Regions from separate parts of the Homo sapiens genome. Here regions 1 and 2 are each linked to region 3. The links are contacts of gene promoters, found by promoter capture Hi-C in human tissues and cell types (Jung and others, 2019). All regions are on one chromosome and are shown on one strand. The core of a region is centred on a gene start or on the middle of the fragment in contact, and the rest is flanking DNA. Distances in the headings are between cores, read along the strand shown.

The links. The method cuts DNA at HindIII sites, captures the fragments that hold promoters and counts their contacts. A contact is called where the count stands out against the background at its distance.
Region 1: a contact is called between a fragment that was not itself captured here and the fragment with the promoter of ZNF823 in region 3, in 4 of the 25 tissues and cell types used here (dorsolateral prefrontal cortex, lymphoblastoid cells, mesendoderm cells and 1 more).
Region 2: the fragment with the promoter of SWSAP1 here is called in contact with the fragment with the promoter of ZNF823 in region 3 in 1 of the 25 tissues and cell types used here (pancreas).

Annotation. Positions count from the first base shown.
Region 1 is chr19:12,126,956-12,129,655 of GRCh38, forward strand. No RefSeq gene overlaps it. Among named protein-coding and RNA genes, the nearest start is that of ZNF20, 12 kb to the right of the region's middle. The HindIII fragment of the contact is 9,523 bases long and covers 1-2,700 here.
Region 2 is chr19:11,373,351-11,376,050 of GRCh38, forward strand. It overlaps SWSAP1 (SWIM-type zinc finger 7 associated protein 1), which reads left to right and starts at 1,316. Exons shown (of 2, transcript NM_175871.4): 1 at 1,316-1,579; 2 at 2,163-2,700. The coding sequence starts at 1,331. The coding sequence ends at 2,666. RefSeq lists a silencer at 1,146-1,225 and enhancers at 1,326-1,395, 1,616-1,665, 1,896-1,975, 1,996-2,045. The HindIII fragment of the contact is 10,471 bases long and covers 1-2,700 here.
Region 3 is chr19:11,737,555-11,740,254 of GRCh38, forward strand. It overlaps ZNF823 (zinc finger protein 823), which reads right to left and starts at 1,392. Exons shown (of 4, transcript NM_001080493.4): 1 at 1,263-1,392. The coding sequence starts at 1,265. RefSeq lists enhancers at 766-895, 1,286-1,365 and silencers at 966-1,115, 1,376-1,570. The HindIII fragment of the contact is 18,648 bases long and covers 1-2,700 here.

The DNA of each region.
Region 1 (2,700 bases), core at 159-2,658, 390 kb after region 3:
GGACTTTGTTGGAAATTCTACTCTACTCTACTCTACTGTATTTATGTTATGTTATGTTGTTATGTTATGTTATGTTATGTTATGTTATGTTATGTTATGTTATGTTATGTTATTTTAGAGACAAGGTCTTGCTCTGTTGCCCAGGCTGGAGTGCAGTGTTGCAGTCTCAGCTCACTGCAACCTCTGCCTCCCAGGTTCAAGTGATTCTCCTGCTTCAGCCTCCCGAGTAGCTGGGATTACAGGTGGCCACCACCCCAGCCGGCTAATTTTTGTACTTTTAGTAGAGACAGGGTTTCACTATGTTGGCCAGGCTGGTCTAGAACTCCTGACCTCAAGTGATCCGCCCGCCTTGGCCTCCCAAAGTGCTGGGATTATAGGCATAAGCCGCCGTGCCTGGCCCCTGAAATACTTTTTAATATAGGGTGTAAGCCAGGCGCGGTGGCTCACATCTGTAATACAAATACAAATACAAAAATTAACCAGGTGTGGTAGTGCGTGCCTGTAATCCCAGCTACTCGGGAGGCTGAGGCAGGAGAATTGCTTGAACCCAGCAGGTGAAGGTTGCAGTGAGCTGAGATCGCACCACTGCACTCAAGCCTGGCGACAGAGCGAGACTCTGTCTCAAAAAAAAAAAAAGTGTGTAACAGTTGGTGAAAAGGTTCAAAAAAAAAAAGAAAAGAAAAGAAAGGTGACACTTAAATTTACATGACTTTTTTTTTTTTTTTTTTGAGACAGCGTCTTGCTCTGTCACCCAGGCTGGAGTGCAGTGGCACAATCTTGGCTCAATGCAAGCTCTGCCTCCCAGGTTCATGCCATTCTCCTGCCTCAGCCTCCTGAGTAGCTGGGACTACGGGCGCCCGCCACCACGCCCGGCTAATTTTTTGTATTTTTAGTAGAGACAGGGTTTCACCATGTTAGCCAGGATGGTCTCGATCTCCTGACCTCGTGATCTGTCTACCTTGGCCTCCCAAAGTGCTGGGATAACAGGCGTGAGCCACCGCACCCAGCCTACATGACTTAACTTTTTACCTTGTTAAACAGAGAGCAATCAACCCTGTGAACGTTATGTTCCAGATTCTGACAAGTGTGTTGAAAAAATTCTACACACTAAATGAAATAGGAGTAATGGGTGAGAGAGTGTGACCTTGAGTTTCAAGTTGGGGTAAGGGGGGCGGAAAAGAAGACAGTGTCTTGAGGTGGTGACATCTGTAGTGAGATCTGAAATGACGTGTTAGTATATGAAGTCAGGAAAGAGGATTCTGGGAAGATGGCAGAATAGGAAGTATCAAGCAGAAACTACAGGAAGCCATTTTTGTGAACTGAGTTCCTCTGCTGGGCCCTCAGAAACCAGACCTACCCCAGCGATTAGGAAATTACACCTAGGCAATCGTCATTGCCCCACACGCTACAAAGAACGTTCAGTAGACAATGGCTTGAGAAATGCGCCCAGTCCAATCTTTGGGTAAGCCAGGTGCAGAGATGTACAAAAAGACTGTCCTTGGCAAAGTTCTATGGTCACATGATGTTTGAGGCAGTTCTGCATATCATATGAGGGCCTTATTGGAGTTCTTGTGTATCTCTGCCAAGAGAGTACTGCACAGCAGAGGTCATTATTGCAACTTCCGTGCCATTTATTTATTTTGAGACAGAGTCTTGCTCTTTTGCCAGGCTGAAGTGCAGTGGCACGATCTCAGCTCACTGCAGTCTCTGCCTCCCGGGTTCAAGGGATTCCTCTGCCTCAGCCTCCTGAGTAGCTGGGACTATAGGAGCCCGCCACCACGCCCGGCTAATTTTTTGTATTTTAGTAGAGACAGGTTTCACCATGTTGGCCAGAATGGTCTCAATCTCCTGACTTCATGATCCGCCCGCCTCGGCCTCCCAAAGTGCCGGGATTACAGGCATGAGCCACTGCACCCAGCCACTTCTGTGCCATTTAATTGTTCACCAGTTGCCACAGGTCTATCTGTGTACACCTGAGTTGCTTGAGTGGTTCTAAACAAATGAATTTAACTTTCATTGTGGTGTTGAATTTTTGTATATACCTTTTATGAATTATTTTGACCGTGGGCTGACCAATATCATGAGTAAAAGATTTAAAAGGTCTAGAGGAGCCAGGCATGTTGGCTCATGCCTATAATCCCAGCACTTTGGGAGGCCGAGGCAGATGGATCGCTTGAGGCCAGGAGTTTAGAGACCAGTCTGGCCAACATGGTGAAACTCCAATTCTACAAAAAACACAAAAATTAACTGGGCATGGTGGTGTTCGCCTGTAGTGCCAGCTACTTGGGAGGTTGTGACGAGACTTGCTTGAACCTGGGAAGCAGAGGTTGCAGTGAGCTGAGATCGTGCCACTGCAATTCAGCCTAGGCAACAGAGCGACACTCTGTCTCAAAAAAAAAAAAAAAAAAGCCATAGGTAGGAAGCAAAATGTAAATAATGAGAAAAATATATATCTTAAGTTCACATTTGAAATATGTAAGAAAATTTGGTGATGCTGCAAATAAACTGAGGATTGTAATTATATAAATTACAAGTTTTTCCTGAGAAAAAACACATTTTCAACCTAAGTACATTGATCTTAAAGGATTTTTCCTTTGCTTTTTGACCTTGCTTTGTGAAAAAGTGCAAAAATAAGACATGAATAGTCAAAATAAGAATTTTTGGGCCAGGCGTGGTGGCTCACACTTATAATCCCAGCAC
Region 2 (2,700 bases), core at 66-2,565, 360 kb before region 3:
CGTGTTTGACAGCGCAGTGTATCGGTGTGCTTCACTGTGTGTGTCTGTGTGTGTAGTGGCAATGTCATAGTTGCGTGTTTTGCAAGAGAAAGGGTGTGGGGGATGAATGTGGGACAGAGTTTGTATGGGATGCTTTGTGTCAGGATAGGGCAAGGTTGGAGCATGTGGATGATGGGGATTCTGAAAGTAGAATATATTCAGAGATGCCATGGTGTGTGTGTGTGTGTGTGTGTGTGTGTAGAGGGGTGTGAGTGAGCCCAGCTGTGTGAGTGGGTGTGTTGGGGGATGTCGTGGAGCTGTTTTCTGGTCCCAGAGGGAGAGAGAAAGCCCAGGAAATCTCACTTTCTCCCTGCCCCTGGGTCTCCAGGCAACGGCACCACTTTGGAGTTACCAGGAGACAAGGTTGCCAGGGCAACACAGGCGTGAGTGGCAGCTCTGGGGCGAAGTCTGGGTGAGAAGATCCAGCCAGGGATCACGATCATTCACTTTGTTCCTCCCTTTCTCCCTGTTTCTCATCAATCCCACCTCCCTTCCTTCATTGTCTTAACGAGCACGTATTTGAGAACCTACAAATGTGCTAGGTGCTATTCTCGGTACTGGAGAACAGAAGTGAACAAGACAATGTCCCTGCTGTATCTCTCCTTCAGTCTTCCAGCTCCTGTCTCTTTATCTCTCCTGCTTCCTTCTTTGTCCTGCGGTCCTGCCTTCCCCCCGTACCACAAAGGCGGCCCCACAGAACCCCTTAGCCAGTGAGGAAGTAAGTTGAGAGGCTTCATCTCACAGACTTTCGGGGATGGCCGTTGATGTTTTGTCCACGAGCCTGTGTCCCCAGACACACACTCCGGCCCATACTCAGGTGCACAGAAAGACAAGCACACAGCTCATCCCCCTCTCCAAAACTCTCAGTTGTCATTGGATGACATCAGCAAAACCACACACAAATACATGCCGATCACAATACTCCTCTGAGATATCATAAGCCCCATTTTACAGCAGGGCAAACTGAGGCTAGGAGCCTTTAAATAATATGTCACTCATTCTGGTCTACTCCTCCAACTTTCAACCCTTATATTTGTCTGATTAGCTGACAATAATAGTATTCGTGCTGGTTCCCCCAGCAGCCTCCCTCAGGGAAGGGTCTTATTTCCCTCGAATGCACCCATTCCTCCGCATAGGTTCTAACCATTTGCCCATTCACCTGAGGAATCGAGTTTTGATGGACAGATTCCTAGACCAATAGAGAAACTAAGTGAACTGTACCGATGCGGCCACGGCTTGGGCGGGACTAAGGCTGGGAACGAGCCACCGATTGGTCAGAGCTACGCGGCGAATGGCGGAGACGCTGAGGCGGGTGCTAACCAGGGGCGGTGCGGCCTGGTCCGGGGAGGAGAACATGCCTGCCGCCGGACCGCCTTTGCTGCTGCTCGGTACACCAGGATCTGGAAAAACAGCGCTGCTATTTGCTGCGGCCCTAGAGGCGGCGGGGGAGGGCCAAGGCCCAGTCCTCTTCCTGACACGAAGGCCTCTTCAAAGCATGCCCCGCGGGACCGGAACGACTCTAGACCCAATGCGACTCCAGGTAACCGTGGGGGTGGGAGCAGAGGCGTTCTAGCCAATGGTGGAGTAGATCCGGGATATTGAGTAACAGGTAGACAAGCCAATGGAGAGGACGGTGGAAGAGCGAGCCAGGGCAGCCACGATGGGGCGGAGTCAGGCAGGCGGAGTGAGGAGTGGCACCACGCGGAGCTTAGTTAAGATTGAAGTGAGAGCCCATCCAATGATGGGCGGTGTTAGCAAGAGGCGGTGCCCAGAGATTGAAGTCCGGCCCATCAAGGGGCGGGGCTAAGCTTGGGTCCATTCTGGACCTGAGTTGGTTCCTGTTAGTGTCAAGGATGGGGTCAGACCGAGAATGCTGGGGGAGGGTTTTCCGTGGAAAAATTGCGCTAGAGATTTGGCCAAAAACAAACAAGCAAAAATGGCTTGCCCTCAACTAATACTCGGCAGTGATGAGTGCTGGAAAAACGGGCGAATATAAGAATATTTAACAGCTCTGAACTGGTTCATCCTGGAACCAAGGAAAGTATGCAAGGAGGCAGGGTTACTTTTAAGGAGTCTGGCTTCCTGTGCTGAATCCGGCCCTTTCCTTCTGTTTCTCCTTCTAGAAGATCCGCTTCCAGTACCCACCCTCAACCCGAGAGCTTTTCCGGCTCCTGTGCTCTGCCCATGAGGCCCCGGGGCCAGCCCCCTCCCTTCTGCTGCTCGACGGCCTAGAAGAGTACCTAGCGGAAGACCCAGAGCCCCAGGAAGCCGCCTACCTCATTGCCTTACTTCTAGACACAGCTGCCCACTTCAGCCACCGGCTTGGGCCTGGCCGGGATTGTGGGCTCATGGTGGCCCTCCAGACCCAGGAGGAAGCAGGTAGTGGGGACGTCCTGCACCTGGCACTGCTCCAGCGGTATTTTCCTGCCCAGTGCTGGCTGCAGCCAGATGCACCAGGTCCAGGAGAGCACGGCCTCCGAGCCTGCCTGGAGCCAGGCGGGCTGGGCCCCAGAACAGAGTGGTGGGTGACTTTCCGATCAGATGGAGAAATGATGATCGCTCCGTGGCCCACCCAGGCTGGTGACCCCAGCTCAGGCAAGGGTTCAAGCTCTGGAGGCCAGCCCTGAGCTTTGGTGGGTGACTACCTCTCTGTGCTTCAGT
Region 3 (2,700 bases), core at 142-2,641:
CCCGGCTTTTTTTTTTTTTTTTTTTTTTTCACACTGGAGTCAAGTGGTTATTCTTTGCTTCCTCACATGTGAAATGTTCACAAACACAAAAACACATCTTTTAAAAAGAGCCATACATTGCTATGTGAAAAGAAAGTGACAATTAAAATAATGCCTCTGTTTGAAATATTGCCTGAGGGACAAAGAGTTCATAAAGTTGCTGGGAATTGATGAGAGACAGTTAGCCTGGGGAAGGCTCTGAAAACCAAGAGATTTGCTGCCAGCCCTAGGAGGAGTTAGGATGAGGGGATAGGGTGGTGGATTTGAGACCCTGCTGCCCACATCTTTGGAAGACTCGGAGGGAAACCGGTCACCTTTGGGAAGAAAGAAGGGACTGGGGAACCCACAGATCACAGCTTCTCTTCCAAAGCACAAAGCCCACACACACGAGTCTGGATTCTGCCTGGTGACCCTCCGTTGTCACCGTGCAGCGTCCTCACCGGGTTCACAGGAACTGCGAGCCAGGCTGGAGGCGAGATTGCAGTTAGATATTAACCAGGTGCCCTCAGCCCCGCTGCCTCACGGGGCCGCCTCCCTGAGAGTCAGGTCACAGCAGACGCTGACCGCCGGCTTCCTCATCGTGCCCGGGGATAAGATCTCTTGAGAGTTGCTCACGGGTCGCCTCAGTTCTTTCTCGGATCCTGAATTGCAGCGGAAAGGCTGGCGCCAACCAGGCTGAAGACCCCACAAGGGAACCCACTCAGCAGAATGCGGTTTCTTCACCTCCAGTCCCAGGAGTCACCTCTCACTTCTCCACCAACCAGCGACCCCACACTCCAGCCGTCCCTGTCCACACCTCTAAACACCCCATCCCCAAACCTCTCAGGGAGGCGGATCTGGGGTGTCCTCCCCTCTCCCCCATTAAACTGTTTCTGCTGCAGCCTTCGGCGTCTCGGTGCAGTGACTCGGGCCGTGAACCTGTGCCGGTTACAACTGCACAATCTGGGGAGACGCGGAGCTGCGGGCGCGGAGCTGCCCAGAGAGGGCGCCGGGGCCGGGGCCGCAGCGGCCGAGCAGGGACGGGACAGGACGCCCGGGGTCCCGGCTGCCGCCCCAGCCCCATCTTGCGGCCCAGGGGACCAAGGGCAGAGCTGCGCCAGGGGCACTGGGATTTGCAGACCCCGGAGTCGCCCAGGGCGAGGCCCGGGTCCCCTCACGGTCGGTTCCGGCCGGTTCCAACCTGCCCCTTCTTTGCCTCGGGACGCCGGGCCCCGCACACTCACCATTTCCCAGCTTCCAGGTGTCCGGGTGTCCTCCTTAAAAGCCAGTGTGGGTCCCAGCGCGACAGACGCTGATACAGACCTTCCAGGGCGTCTCTCTCTCAGCGCCAGAGCCAGGACTCAGAGCGCAGGGGCGTGGAGAAGACTCCGCGGGCTCTTTGAACGTCGCACCCTCCTCCCTGCAGCGTGCCTGATTGACAGTTCTCACAATCCCCGCCCCCTCATCCCTGATTGGATAGTGCTCCAGGTCCCGCCCCTTGGTGGCTGATTGACAGAAGAAGCGATCTCACAGTGCTGAGTGGAGCCGGATGAACAGGTTCCAGGCACGACCCTTGGCAAGGCGGGCTTCCTCCCAACGGAGTGACCTGACCCCTCCCGAAGTGACGTTTGCATTTTAGAATTTCCTGATTGTATTCAGTGGGTTCTTCCTGCTTTTTCCTCCTGGACAGGGACTCACAAGTGTGTGCAGGGAATTCCAGGCTCCCTGTCCAGTGGAGCCATTCCCGGACCTCGGAGCAGGAGGGGAGCCCGGGGCACACAGGCCACCCTGCAGCAGGAGGGAGGGCCTGATGTCCTCCAGGGATCAGGAATTTGGGATGAGGCTGTTGGCGACGTTGCCAAGCCTTTCCCTCACCTTATCTCTCAATCTACTCATTTTCAGCCCAGAAGATAAAAACAGGACAACAAAATAAAATAGTTGAGTATGTGGAAAAACTGGAATTATATGGCAGCAATATTTCATAAAGAATCAAAAGAGAAGAAAAGCAAAAACTTGAACAAGCTCAGAGAAGCAGCCTACTGCACTCACAGTTCACAAGCAGACCCCCTTTCAGGAGGTCAAACATATCCCCAAGCTGGGAAGCCAGGCAATGATTCCTAAAATGGAGCTCCGGGGTGGATCAGAAGCTGGTGATAAGGGAGGGACAATTAAGAATTTTACTCTGAGGTCTCAAAATACCTGTCCCCTCTGCACAGCGTGGAAATGCTCCCTCCTTATGCCATTAAATGTTAATGAATTAAACGCTCCAATCAAAAGCCAAGACATCACACTTTGAATTTGAAAACATTAGCCTTTCTCCATATGTTTATGAAGTAAAAATACTAGACTTAAAAGCGTTATGGCCGGGCGCGGTGGCTCACGCCTGTAATCCCAGCACTTTGGGAGGCTGAGGCGGGTGGATCACCTGAGGTCGGGAGTTTGAGACCAGCCTGACAAACATGATGAAACCCCGTTTCTACTAAAAACGCAAAATTAGCCGGGTGTGGTGGCACGCTCCTGTAATCCCGGCTCCTCAGGAAGCTGAGGCAGGAGTATCGCTTGAACCCGGCAGGCAGAGGTTGCAGTGAGCCGACATCACACCACTGCACTCCAGCCTGGGCAACAGAGCGAGGAAAAAAAAAAACTCCATCTCAAAAAAAAAAAAAAAAAAGCGTTATGAAC